Regions from separate parts of the Homo sapiens genome. Here region 1 is linked to region 2. The links are contacts of gene promoters, found by promoter capture Hi-C in human tissues and cell types (Jung and others, 2019). All regions are on one chromosome and are shown on one strand. Each heading gives the region's core, a stretch centred on a gene start or on the middle of the fragment in contact. The rest is flanking DNA. Distances are from core to core; before and after follow the strand shown.

Evidence for each region. Contacts are between HindIII fragments. The study calls those that stand out against the background at their distance.
Region 1: a contact is called between a fragment that was not itself captured here and the fragment with the promoter of INTS2 in region 2, in 2 of the 25 tissues and cell types used here (adrenal gland and liver).

What each region holds. Positions count from the first base shown.
Region 1 is chr17:62,026,854-62,032,922 of GRCh38, forward strand. MED13 (mediator complex subunit 13) reads right to left here. Exons shown (of 30, transcript NM_005121.3): 6 at 4,591-4,785; 7 at 2,998-3,160; 8 at 2,688-2,798. Among named protein-coding and RNA genes, the nearest start is that of MED13, 35 kb to the right of the region's middle. The HindIII fragment of the contact is 3,322 bases long and covers 1-3,288 here.
Region 2 is chr17:61,925,814-61,932,250 of GRCh38, forward strand. INTS2 (integrator complex subunit 2) reads right to left here and starts at 2,169. Exons shown (of 25, transcript NM_001351695.2): 1 at 1,841-2,169; 2 at 539-849. The coding sequence starts at 831. RefSeq lists a silencer at 2,200-2,299. The HindIII fragment of the contact is 16,998 bases long and covers 1-6,437 here.

The sequences.
Region 1 (6,069 bases), core at 378-2,877, 100 kb after region 2:
AAAATAACTGGGAATACAGCTTACCAGAAAGGTTAAAGATCTCTACAATAAGAATTACAAAACACTGCTCAAAGAAATCAGAGATGATGCAAAAAAACAGAAAAACATTCCATGCTCATGGATAGGAAGAATCAATATCCTTAAAATGGCCATACTGCCCAAAGCAATTTGGATTCAATGCTATTCTTATCAAACTACCAATGACATTCTTCACAGAACTAGGAAAAACTATTTTTAAATTTCTATGAAATTCAAAAAGAGCCCAAATAGCCAAGGCAATCCTAAGCAAAAAGAACAATGCTGGAGGCATCATGTTACCTGGCTTAAACAATACTATAGGACTACAGTTACCAAAACAGCATGGTACTGGTACTAAAACAGACACATAGACCAATGAAACAGAATAGAGAGCCCAGAAATAAGGCTGCACTGCCACAACCATCTGATCTTTGACAAAGCTCACAAAAACAAGCAATGGGGAAAGGACTCCCTATTCAATAAATGGTGCTGGTATAAGTGGCTAGTCATATGCAGATGACTGAAATCGGACCCCTTCCTTAATACATAAACATCAACTCAAGATGGATTAAAGACTGAAATGTAAAACCCAAAACTATAAAAACCCTGGAAGACAACCTAGACAATACCACTCTGGACACAGAAATGGGCAAAAATTTCATGACGAAGATGTCAAAAGCAATCACAACAAAAGCAAAAACTGACAGATGGGATCTAATTAAACTAAAGAGCATTTGCACAGCCACAGAAATTATCAACAGACTAAACAGATAACCTACATAATGGGAGAAAAGTTTTGCAAACTATGCTGACAAATGTCTAATATCCAGTATCTAAAAAAACTTAAATTTATATATAAAAAAAATCCTGTTAAAAAGTGGGCAAAGGACATGAAAACTTTTCAAAAGAAGACATATGTGCAGCCAACATGCATATGTAAAAAAGCTCAACATCACTGATCATTAGAGAAATGCAAATCAAAACCATAATGAGATAACATCTCACACCAGTCAGAATGGCTATTATTAAAAAGTCAAAAAATAACAGATGCTGGCGAGGTTGAGAAGGAAACATTTATACACTGTTGATGGAAGTGAAAATAGTTCAACCACTGTGGAAAGCAGTGGTGATTCCTCAAAGAGCTACAACTACCATCCGACCCAGCAACCCCATTACTGGTTATATACCCAGGGAATATAAATCATTCTACCATAAAGACACATATACGCAAATGTCCACTGCAGCACTATTCACAATAGCAAAGACATGGAATCAACCTAAATGCCCATCAATGACAGACTGGATAAAGAAAATGTGGTACATATACACCATGGAATACTGTGCAGCCATAAAAAAAGAATGAGATCATGTCATCTGCAGGAACATGGATGAGCTGGAGGTCATTATCCTTAGCACAGGAACAGAAAGCCAATTACTGCCTGTTCTCACCTATAAGTGGTAGCTAAATGATGAGAACTCATGGACACAAAGAAGGGTCCAACAGACACTGGGGTCTACTTGAGGGTGGAGGCTGGCAGGAGCAACAGGAGCAGAAAAAGTAACTACTGGGTACTAGGCTTAGTATCTGAGTGACAAAATAATCTATACAGCAAACCCTTGTGACATGACTTTACCTATTTCACAAACCTGCACATGTAACCCTGAACCAAAAATAAAAGCTTAAAAAAAAAGAAATGAAATTACTCTTCAAAACCCAACACTGTATTTACTATTAAAAAAAGATTGTATCATGAGGTCAGGAGATTGAGACCATCCTGGCTAACACAGTGAAACCCTGTCTCTACTTTAAAAAAAAAAAAAAAATTAGCTGGGCATGGTGGCGGGCGCCTGTAGTCCCAGCTACTTGGGAGGCTGAGGCAGGAGAATGGCGTGAACCCGGGAGGTGGAGCTTGCAGTGAGCCGAGATCACGCCACTGCACTCCAGACCAGGGGACAGAGCAAGACTCCATCTCAAAAAATAAAAAATAAAAAAAGATTACTGTAGGCCAGATATGGTGGCTCACACCTGTAATCATAGCACTTTGGAAAGCCAAGGGGAGGACTGTTTGAGGTTAGGAGTTCGAAATAAGCCTGGACAACATACCAAGATCCCCTCTCTACGAATTTTTTTTTCTTTTAATTAGCCAGGTGTGGTGGCACATGCCTATAACCCTAGCTACTTGGGAGGCTGGGGCAGGAGGATCGACTGAGGCCAGAAGTTTGAGGTTGCAGTGAGCCATGATCACTCCAGCCTGGGTAACAAAGCAAGACCCTGTCTCTTCATTTTTTAAAAAAAGAAAGAACTCTTGGGATAAATTTCTCAGGTAGTGCCATTGAGGAAGGAATGCTTTTCTCAAGAGATTTATATGGCTGTATAGCTTATAGATACTATATATACCATAGCTCCATATAAAATTGTCTTTTATTTAGCTACTAGGAAACAAAACTTTCAGAGTCTGCCTCTGGTAACAGTGAATGAACTGAAAGCTTATATTTACATGTACTTCTATAATCAGCTTCAAATTCCTGAAATATTTTTCCTGAATTTTCTTTTGAAAAAAAATCCTGACATATGTTCATGTAAGCTGTTTCAAATAAAGTGGGCATAAGCATTCAGTGGCGTAACAAACTATCACACATAGGCATCAATCGATCGGGAAATAATCTACCTCAAACAACTGCAATTTGTTCTTTGTGTGGCTTCAACAAAATCCCAGGATGCCACTTTAGCAGCTGTCGCTTCTTCGCATAGACCACCTGATGAAGCAGAATACTTCCTCCTAAGATTTAAAGTTACAAAATTCTTTAAAATTCATAAAATTTTCTATCAAACCTCAATGTAGCATTGAAATTAATTTTAAAGATCAACATTATGAGTTAAAGAAAAATCAAACAAATGACTGTTTATACTTTAGATATCTTCTAATTATAAGTAATTATCAACATGCAATTTTTGAACTTATAAATGAAAATACACACTTGTTCTGTGCTCTGTTCATATTGCATTCTTGCCAAACTCTATCCACCACATGATTTGCTAATTTTCTGGGTATTTTCCCACCATGGTGGCTAGTACTATCGGAGTTGAAGCCATCAGATACTGAAGAAAATTTGACCCACTTCTGGACAGACTGAGGATCAACTGAAAACAAAACAAAAAAACAGGCTGTAGGAGAATAAAGGTAGGTTTAAAGTAACATTATTTGGGTTTTTTATTAATTTGTGATACAAGCTGCTCCAGCTATCTGGTAAAATTATTTATATTTTGAGATAAAAAGCATGCTACTTTTTGGAACCAGATCTCATTAGGCAAATGTGGCAATCAAGTACATCTCTGTAACCTACCACTCTCAGTACCAAGAGTGGGGTTCTCAGGAGCCAGGCAGGGCCAGCACACGGTGGCGTGTCGGGGGAGGTGGGCTGAGGGCAAGGAAGGAGGTGTCCCATGGATCATGCTGTATAAGCAAACCAGACTATCCTGATGCCCAGAGTGACATCATCAAGGTCAGAGGCTGGCCAGAGGTGGGGAGACTGGAAGGACTTCGGAGTAGTGCGAAGGGGCCCTGGACACCAGCCATGGAGCTGCTGCACAGAGCCTGGCTTCCACATCAAGGTGGGGTTTGGAGGCCAGGATGAGCCCCTGCAGCGGCAGCACTCTGGCCCTTCTGTCCCTGCCAGCCTCTGACCTGGGTCAGTCAATCATTGCTGGATTTTAGCCAAACACTTTAGTGTTCTCATTTAGTTGGAAATTAGACAGTCTTTTTTGTAAGGTCAGCTGAGCATGAGCATATTTCCCCTCCATTGTAAAAAGCTCTTCTGTGTTTTTATACGTTTCTCCTCCATTGTAAAAAGTTCTTCTGTGTTTTTGTTTTAAAGGTAGATGGAGGGAGGGCAGAGATATAAACTGTTGCATGAATCGATGGGTCAGAACTTTAGTATATGCGTATGTTCTTCTGAGTAACAGGGCGTTTTGCTGAAAATAAGCACCTTGGTAACTAAACCCCTTTTAATAGCTAAAACGCTTTAGTTCTGTATTGACAGTTACTGTAAAAGCTTGGGTTTATTTTTGTAGGACTTAAGGGCTAAGAATTAGAACACAGCAATGGGCTGCTCTGTTGGAGTAATTTTAATTATAGATAAACACATAAACCTTTAAAAATAAAAGCACGCTACTTTTAAATACAGAAAGCAAAATATCTAAAACAGGGAATGCAAACTGGATGGCAGTGTATCAATGCTGATTTTCTGACTAAGAGGATCGAGTAATAGTTGTATAGGAGAGTGTCCTTAATTCTGGGAAACACACTGAGTACACAGGAGTGATGGGACATCATGTCTGTAGGTTGTTCTCAAATGGTTCAGAAAAAGACCAATGATAATGAATGTACATCATACAGACAGGGTGATGGAGTAAATAATAACAGTTTGGAAATATGGCTAAGGAAATTACTTGTACTACACTTGTAAATTCTCAAGAAGTTTGAAACTATTTCAAAATAAATTATTTCTTAAGTACTTACTGTACACAAAATAACAAATTACCAGAGCTGATGAGACAAATTACTGCTATACCTGTTTGGACTTCCTCAGGAGACGTAGGTGGTGTAAGCGTAACCGAAGACATAGCAGGATCTCTTGTGGAAGCAGGCACTTGGTGGACACCCAAGCAAGAAGATGAACAGTGAGTGGATCCCACAGGGCTAGGAGTAGGAATGTCTGACTGAGGGACTAGAACAAAGCATGCTGGGTAGATCATTCGGACACCAGCTGAAAGGAAAAAAATGGGACAGGAAAACCAATTACCTTTGTGACTAGTGAATTAGTTTCACTCAAAAGTACTATAATGGAAAAGTAGGTATCACATTTATACAAATAAAAATACATTTTTATAAATATAAGCTTCTTTGGCATAAGTTTTTCTTTTCTTTTTTTTTTTTCTCTTTTTTAGAAGAAACCACAATAAACCACAATAAGCTGTCAGTGGTGGTTATCTTTGCTGAGAGAGATTTGGAAAAAGGCAGCTTTCCTTTTTTTAGATTTCTAGAAATGTGTTTTTTAAATCTTTATGTGCACTTCTGACCAACTTAATGTGTATTACTTTTTCAATTTTATTGTTTAAGTTTAACAAAGGTAATCTGGACACTAGAATTATGAACCATTTTCTACTTACTTTTCTATATGCCTCTATTTTAAAAGCCTAAAAAATGTGTGTTTTTTCTGTTTCTGTCACAACTGCTCTAGTAGTAATGGGTTTATTTAAAGTGAGCACTGGTAATCTTTTTCTTAAAAAAAAAACAGACAAACAACAACAAAAAAAACAGGCCAGGAGTGGTAGCTCACACCTGTAATCCTAGCACTTTGGGAGGCCGAGGCAGGTGGGTCATTTGAAGTCAGGAGTTCAAGAGCAACCTGGCCAACATGGCTAAACCCCATCTCTACTAAAAATACAAAATTTAGCTGGGCGTGGTGGCAGGCACCTGTAATCCCAGCTACTTGGGAGGGTGAGGCAGGAGAACTGCTTGAGCCCGGGAGGTGGAGGTTGCAGTGAGCAGAGATCACGCCATTGCACTCCAGCCTGAGCAGCGACAGAGCGAGATTCCGTCTCAGGAAAAAAAAAAAAAAAAAAAAGATGAAATAAGGTGATCTTCACGTCTAACATTACCATTAGATTCCCTTAAATACAATATGGTAGATTCTAATTCCAATTATCTCCTAAATTATACTTTCTCCATGCCTCCTCTCATGCCTCTCTGAGGTAGAGTATATGTCTTCACTCCATTGTCAGGCTGTGTGACTTGCTCTGGAATGTAAGCATGTGATATAAGCCACATCCTAACAGAAGCTTTAAATGTGCCTGCAGGGTCAGTGCAGCTTCTCTCACTTCTGTCTTCTGCTATGAGATTAACATGTCCCAGATGTGGGTACTTTGTTAACCTGGGTCCCTGAATGAGAGGACATAGAGAATACAGCCAATCTGAAAAAATCTGACCCTTTTAGGCTGGGCACGGTGGCTCACGCCAGTAATCCCAGCACTCTGGGAGGCCAAGGTAG
Region 2 (6,437 bases), core at 919-3,418:
CAGGAGTTGGAGACCAGCCTGGCCAACATGATGAAACCCCATCTCTACTAAAAATACAAAAAATTAGCCGGGCATGGTGGCAGGTGCCTGTAATCCCAGCTACTCGGGAGGCTGAGGCAGGAGGATCGCTTGAACCTGGGAGGCTGAGGTTGCAGTGAGCCAAGATCACGCCATTGCACTCCAGCCTGGGCAACAAGAGCGAAACTCTGTCTCAAAAAAGAAAAAAAAAAGCCTCCCAAGTGATTCCAATAAATCCCTCTAATCTAGGGGAAGTTACCCTACCTACTTCCCACTGAAAGTAATTGGCCTAATGAGTTTAGCCCACATACAACAGCACATTGCCATATTTCTCTAGATAACATTTTATAACATGGAAGTCAAAAGATTCTGGAACTGTAACTATATACAGAAAAGACCTAAGTAAAATGCTCTCCAGAATTTAGATTCTCATTCTCTCTTTTCTGGAGAGCTCTAAAAAATATCTGATTCCCTGTTCTTTGTCAAATCCAAATCCACATATAATATAACATAACATTACCTAAGCTGCTGTTCTTTGCTGGCATCTTGTTCTAAAGCATGAAAGTCCACGGACAACAATGCAACAATGGAGTTGACAGCTTCCACTCCAGAAAGAAGGCGAAGGATGAGTTTCTTATCCTGAGCCCAGCTTTGGCTCTGGTCAGCAGGTGCACAAAGTGCCATCCGTACCAAACAGGGCAGAAGAAGTCTTAATTCTGGATCACTTAAAGATGCCAGGCAAACAACATCCACCTTCTGCATTGCCTCAAAAGCAAAAGGGCTGACAAACTGAAGACTTGTACATTCAGTCATTATTACTGTTTGTTGATCCTAATGGTAAAAATACAAATGAAAGTAGGAGTTTAACTTTCACATGTATGAACACCCAACTTTCTAAAAACCCTGAAAAATGTGGTGTATCTTTAATAGGTCCCTATGTTGGCAATGTTCCTGGCACAATCAAGACAAGGCTTCTCTGTCTCCCTAGGTTTATACTGTCACCTGGGAAATGGGAAAGAAAACAGAGTATATTAATGTCTCTTCCAGCCTCAGGAATCTTCTGCTCTAATACTCATATTTTACAAAGAAGGAATATGAAGCCCAGAGAGATGAAGTAACACGCCCAAAATAGTATTACTAGTTAGAGGCACAATCCAAGGCTGAATCCTCATCTACTAAAATCCCAGTCCAAGACTTTCTCCACTATATCAGTCACATGAGCTCCACAAAATGTAAACAAAAGTGAATGGTCATAGTTAAGTGCTTTCTTTCATACCCCGATAGTTTCACATGCCTACCCCGATATACATCAAGAACTATTGGGCTTCTCTTTCTCACCCTCCATGAGTCGGTGGAAAAACTAGCAAATCACTGGGCAGAACCAATGCCAGATTCAAGGCTCTGGAGGCCACAACACTATCCTATGTCCCCTGTGTTACCGGGTAAAAAGCAGATGTGTGGGTGCTATGTGAGAAAGACGCGTCTCATTAGCGCACTTCTCTGTCTCCAGGAATCATCCAAGGCACAAAAAGTAAACAAAAAGGCAGTGAGCTGGCAGCCAAAGCAGTCCCCTCTCAAGGCCGACCGACTAGCAGCAGCGTGGGTAAAAGTCGTGGGTAAAAACTGCTTTGCTTTCAGGGAGGGGCTGCTCTTTTAACAGAGGGGCGGGCTGACTGGAGCAGAGGAGCCAAGACCTGCGTGCTCCTCCGTCTCGCCCCGGGCGCAACTAGAACCAATAAGTCCCTCAGGCTGAGCAAAGTCTGGCCAGGCTCCGACACGGACCTAGGAACGCGCTGAGGCCAGAGAAGCGGACGCTTCATACCTTAAGATCTACCCTCCAGCCTCACGGAACCGCACACGGACTCCGCGTCCTAGAGGCGGGACGCGGCAGAAATCGAGAGCGCGGTCCGATGTTGGGCCTAGGCGATATCCGGAACCCCAAACCCTAGTTGTGCCTCGAGTCGACTCGGACACCAAGAACTCAGACGCCGGGACCAACCGGGTTGTCGATACAAAGTGGGAAGGATGGGGGCACCACACAAAGGCAGAACCGGGACTGTAGGAACGGAAAAGCGGGAGACTTTTTCAACCTGCACCCAGCACCTTCATTCATCCCCAGCGTCTGACTCCCGTCGGCCACCGTACTGGTCTGAGAGGAAGGGTGGCTGCGAGAGGAAAGGCAGAGACGTCGGCGCCAATGCAACTGTGCGCGTGCGCGGCCCCGCCCCTTTCTCCACTTTATTTGCCCTGCCCTACTTGTTCGCCAAAAATTTAGAAATGTGATTCTGGTAGGCTCTGATTTCCAGAGCCTACCAGCTCCTTCCTTTTAGACAAGCAAGCCACTGAGCCCCTCAGAACTTAAATTTCATCATCACAGGATTGCCATGGCATTCAAATGGCATAACGTGTGTTAAAATCGTTCCCACTATTCTTTGACACTAGTGGTACCAAACTGTACTCTTTAAATCTTTGCCTGTGCCTTCCCAGAACCAAAATTCTAGAATCCCAGGATTTGTGGGAGAATTTTAAAAGTGATCTAACCCCAAACTTTCTTCCGCTCTTGACCTCACACCTCCGCTGTCAGAAGTTAAACACCTTCCTTTCAGGTTCTTAACTTGGGGGACCCATAGAACCTTAGAGAGGCAATGCACGGGGATTCAGGAATTCTCTGGAATCCGTTCAGAACTGAGTGCTCGGCACTTCTTCTGGGAAGAGGGTCCAAAACTTTCAACAACTTCTCAAAGGAAGTCTGATCACTCAGAAAAGAACCACTAGTCTATATATGAAGAACCGCTAGTCCATATGTCTTCATACTATTTATTGTTCCTAGTTCGATCAACGTTTATTTGGCAACTTCTATTTACCAGATATTGTGCTAGGAGCTGGAAATAAAAATATTTTACAAAGATATAGCACTTTATAACCTCTTTAAAAATAAAGTCAGAGCCGGGCGTGGTGTCTCATGCCTGTAATCCCAGCGCTTTGGGAAGCCGAGGCGGGCGGATCACCTGAGGTCAGGAGTTCGAGACCAGCCTGACGCAACATGACTAAACCCCAACTCTACAAAAAATATAAAAATTAGGCCGAGCACGATGGCTCATGCCTGTAATCCTAGCACTTTGGGAGGCCGAGGCAGGCAGATCACGAGGCCAGGAGTTCGAGACCAGCCTGACCAACATGGTGAAACTCCGCCTCTACTAAAAATGCAAAAATTAGCCAGGCGTGGTGGTGTGCGCCTGTAATCTCAGCTACTTGGGAGGCTGAGGCGGGAGCATTGCTTGAACCTGGGAGGCGGAGGTTGTGGTGAGCTGAGATCGTGCCATTGCACTCCAGCCTAGGCAATAAGAGCGAAACTCCGTCTCAAAAAAAAAAAAAAAAAAAAAAAATTACCCCAGCGTGGTGATGGAGCACCTGTAGTCCCAGCTACTTCGGAGGCTGAGACAGGAAAATCACTTGAACCTAGGAGGCAGATGTTTCAGTGAGCAGAGATCATGCCACCGCACTCCAGCCTGGGCAACAGAGCCAGACTCCATCTCAAAAATATATATATATATATGACTTTCAACATAGATCAGCAAAGGAAGAAAAGAATTGTGTGTTGCAATGCTTCTGAAAATTTTTTCCACCTGACCCACAATAATACATTTCACATTGTGACCCAGAAAAAACATATGTATATATCCACATACAAAAATAAGTGTAAGTGTATAAATTTATATGCTATATAAACATATAAATATATAACATATAAACCCACATTTACATGGAAACAAATATTTCGTATAATAACACACACACTACATGTTTCTACTTCTCTTTAAAAAACTGCTGGTCACTGCACACTAAAACTGATTTCACACTCTATTAATGGGTTGCACACTGTACTGTCCTAGCATTTTTAAGCTAATATTTGGGATTTATTTATTGAACACTTGCTAGGCACTGTAATAAATGCTTTATATATATTATCTGATTCAATCTTGTGACGTAGGTAATATTCGCCTTTTGCAATTGTGGAAACTGAGAGAGGGTAAGCAATTTCATCTCCATGGATGGTCATTTCACAGGAAAAGTGTGAAGGCAGTGCAAACATTGGTTTGAGGGACGAATGAGAGGAAGATGTGGGTATGAACTAAGTGATTTTAAAGATCCTTTCCAACTCTAATTATGATCCTCTGTTCACTAATGGAGAAACATCATGCAGATTCAGTATCTCCATCTTGATCTATGGAGAAACAGAAAAATCACTGAATGAGATGGCTGCAGTGTCACATAATGAGTGCTGACACTTCCTCCAAGTCCCCCTCTCCTTTTCTTCCAGTTCACCAACTTGACCTTGAGTTGCTCAAGCCAGAAACCTAAAAGTCATCCTAGACTCTAATCTCTCCCCCTTGTATTAATTTAGCAAAAATCTTTATAATCATTGAAACATTGTAATGTTTGCCAATAAAACTTTTTTTTTTTTGAGACAGAGTCTCGTTCTGTTGCCCAAGCTGGAGTGCAGTGGCACGATCTCGGCTCACTACAACCTCTGCCTCCCAAGCTGAAGCAATCCTCCCACCTCAGCCTCCTGAGTAGCTGGGACAATAGGTGTGCACCACCACACTTGGCTAATTTTTTTTTTTTTTTTTTTGAGACAGAGTCTCGCTGTGTCACCCAGGCTGGAGTGCAGTGGTGCGATCTTGGCTCACTGCAACCTCCGCCTCCCAGGGTCAAGCGATTCTCCTGCCTCAGCCTCCTGAGTAGGTGGGATTACAGGTGCCTGCCACCATGCCTGGCTAATTTTTTGTATTTTTAGTAGAGACAGGGTTTCACCATGTTGGCCAGGCTGGTCTCAAACTCCTGACCTCAGCTGATCCACCCACCTTGGCCTCCCAAAATGCTGGGATTTCAGGCATGAGTCCCTGTACCCAGCCTCTCTTTTTTTTTCCTTTTCGACACAAGTTCTCAAGAAAAGAGCGGCAGTGCAGTTGGGCGATCTTGGCTCACTACAACCTCAACCTCCTGGGCTCAGGTGATCCTCCCACTTCAGCCTCCCAAGTAACTGAGACTATGGTCATGCATCACCACACCTGGCTAATTTTTCTATTTTTTTGTAGAGACAGGGTTTCATTATGTGGCCAGGCTGGTCTTGAACTCCTGGACTCAAGCCATCTGTCCCCCCTCAGTCCACCAAAGTGCTAGGATTACAGGTGCAAGCCACTGCACCTGGCTTGACCAGCTTGCTTTTATTCTTCTACTTTATTTTTCAATCAGACTGGAGGAAGAGAGAAACACAAGTAATGAAAAAATGAGAAAAACAGAAAAACACATTAGAATATCTATTATGTTTCATGTATACTAGGTGCTTAATGTAGGTTGCAGAGTAATTGAGCTTCCAGCAGTTAGAAGACCTAACTATACAAAGGTGAGGACCAATGTCCTTCAGAAATAGTCATAGAATTCCAGAAGCACAAGGATCTCAGAAGACATCTAGCTCCATTTTGCTCAACATGATGCTCTTTATAGTGTGACTATTTTATCTTGTAAGATGTCTTTCAGGAGGGCACGATGGCTCATGCCTGTAATCCCAGCACTTTGGGAGGCCGAGGCGGGTGGATCACGAGGTCAGGAGTTCTAGACCAGCCTGGCCAATATGATGAAACCCTGTCTCTACTAAAAATACAAAAATTAGTTGGGTGTGGTGGTGTGCACCTGTAGTCCCAGCTGCTTGGGAGGCTGAGGCAGGAGAATCGCTTGAACCCGAGAGGTGGAGGTTGCATTGAGCCGAGATTGCGCCACTGCACTCTAGCCTGGGCAACAGAGTGAGACTCCATCTCAAAAAATATATATATTCTTTCATGTTTCAGCCTGTAAAGATCTTTGACTCTTTTACACTGGCTATCTGTTTTAGCTTAGCAGATCATATCTTCATTAATATTATGGATAAAACATTGAATAGAATTGGGTCCAGCCAAGACTTCTAGTTCAGCATTAGAGACATCCCTCCAGGTTGACATAGCTCCACCAATCAAGGCTCAAGTATGAGACTGTTTTATAAATCAGCCCAACTACTAAAACACTACCCTGCTTTGGGATAAAGTTGAATTTCTTTAGGATGGAACTAAAAAGACAGATTGATTGATTATATTTTTTTGAGACAGAGTCTCGCTCTGTCACCCTGGATGGAGTGCAGTGGCTCAATCTTGGCTCACTGCAACCTCCGCCTCCCAGGTTCAAGCAATTCTCCTGCCTCAACCTCCCAAGTAGCTGGGATTACAGGCACCTGCCACCATGCCCAACTAAATTTTTGTGTATTTTTAGGAGAGACGGGGTTTCACCATGTTGGCCGGGCTTGTGTCAGTCTCCTGACCTCAAGTGATCTGCACGGCTTGGCCTCCCAAAGTGCTGAGATTACAGGCGTGAGCCACTGTGCCAAG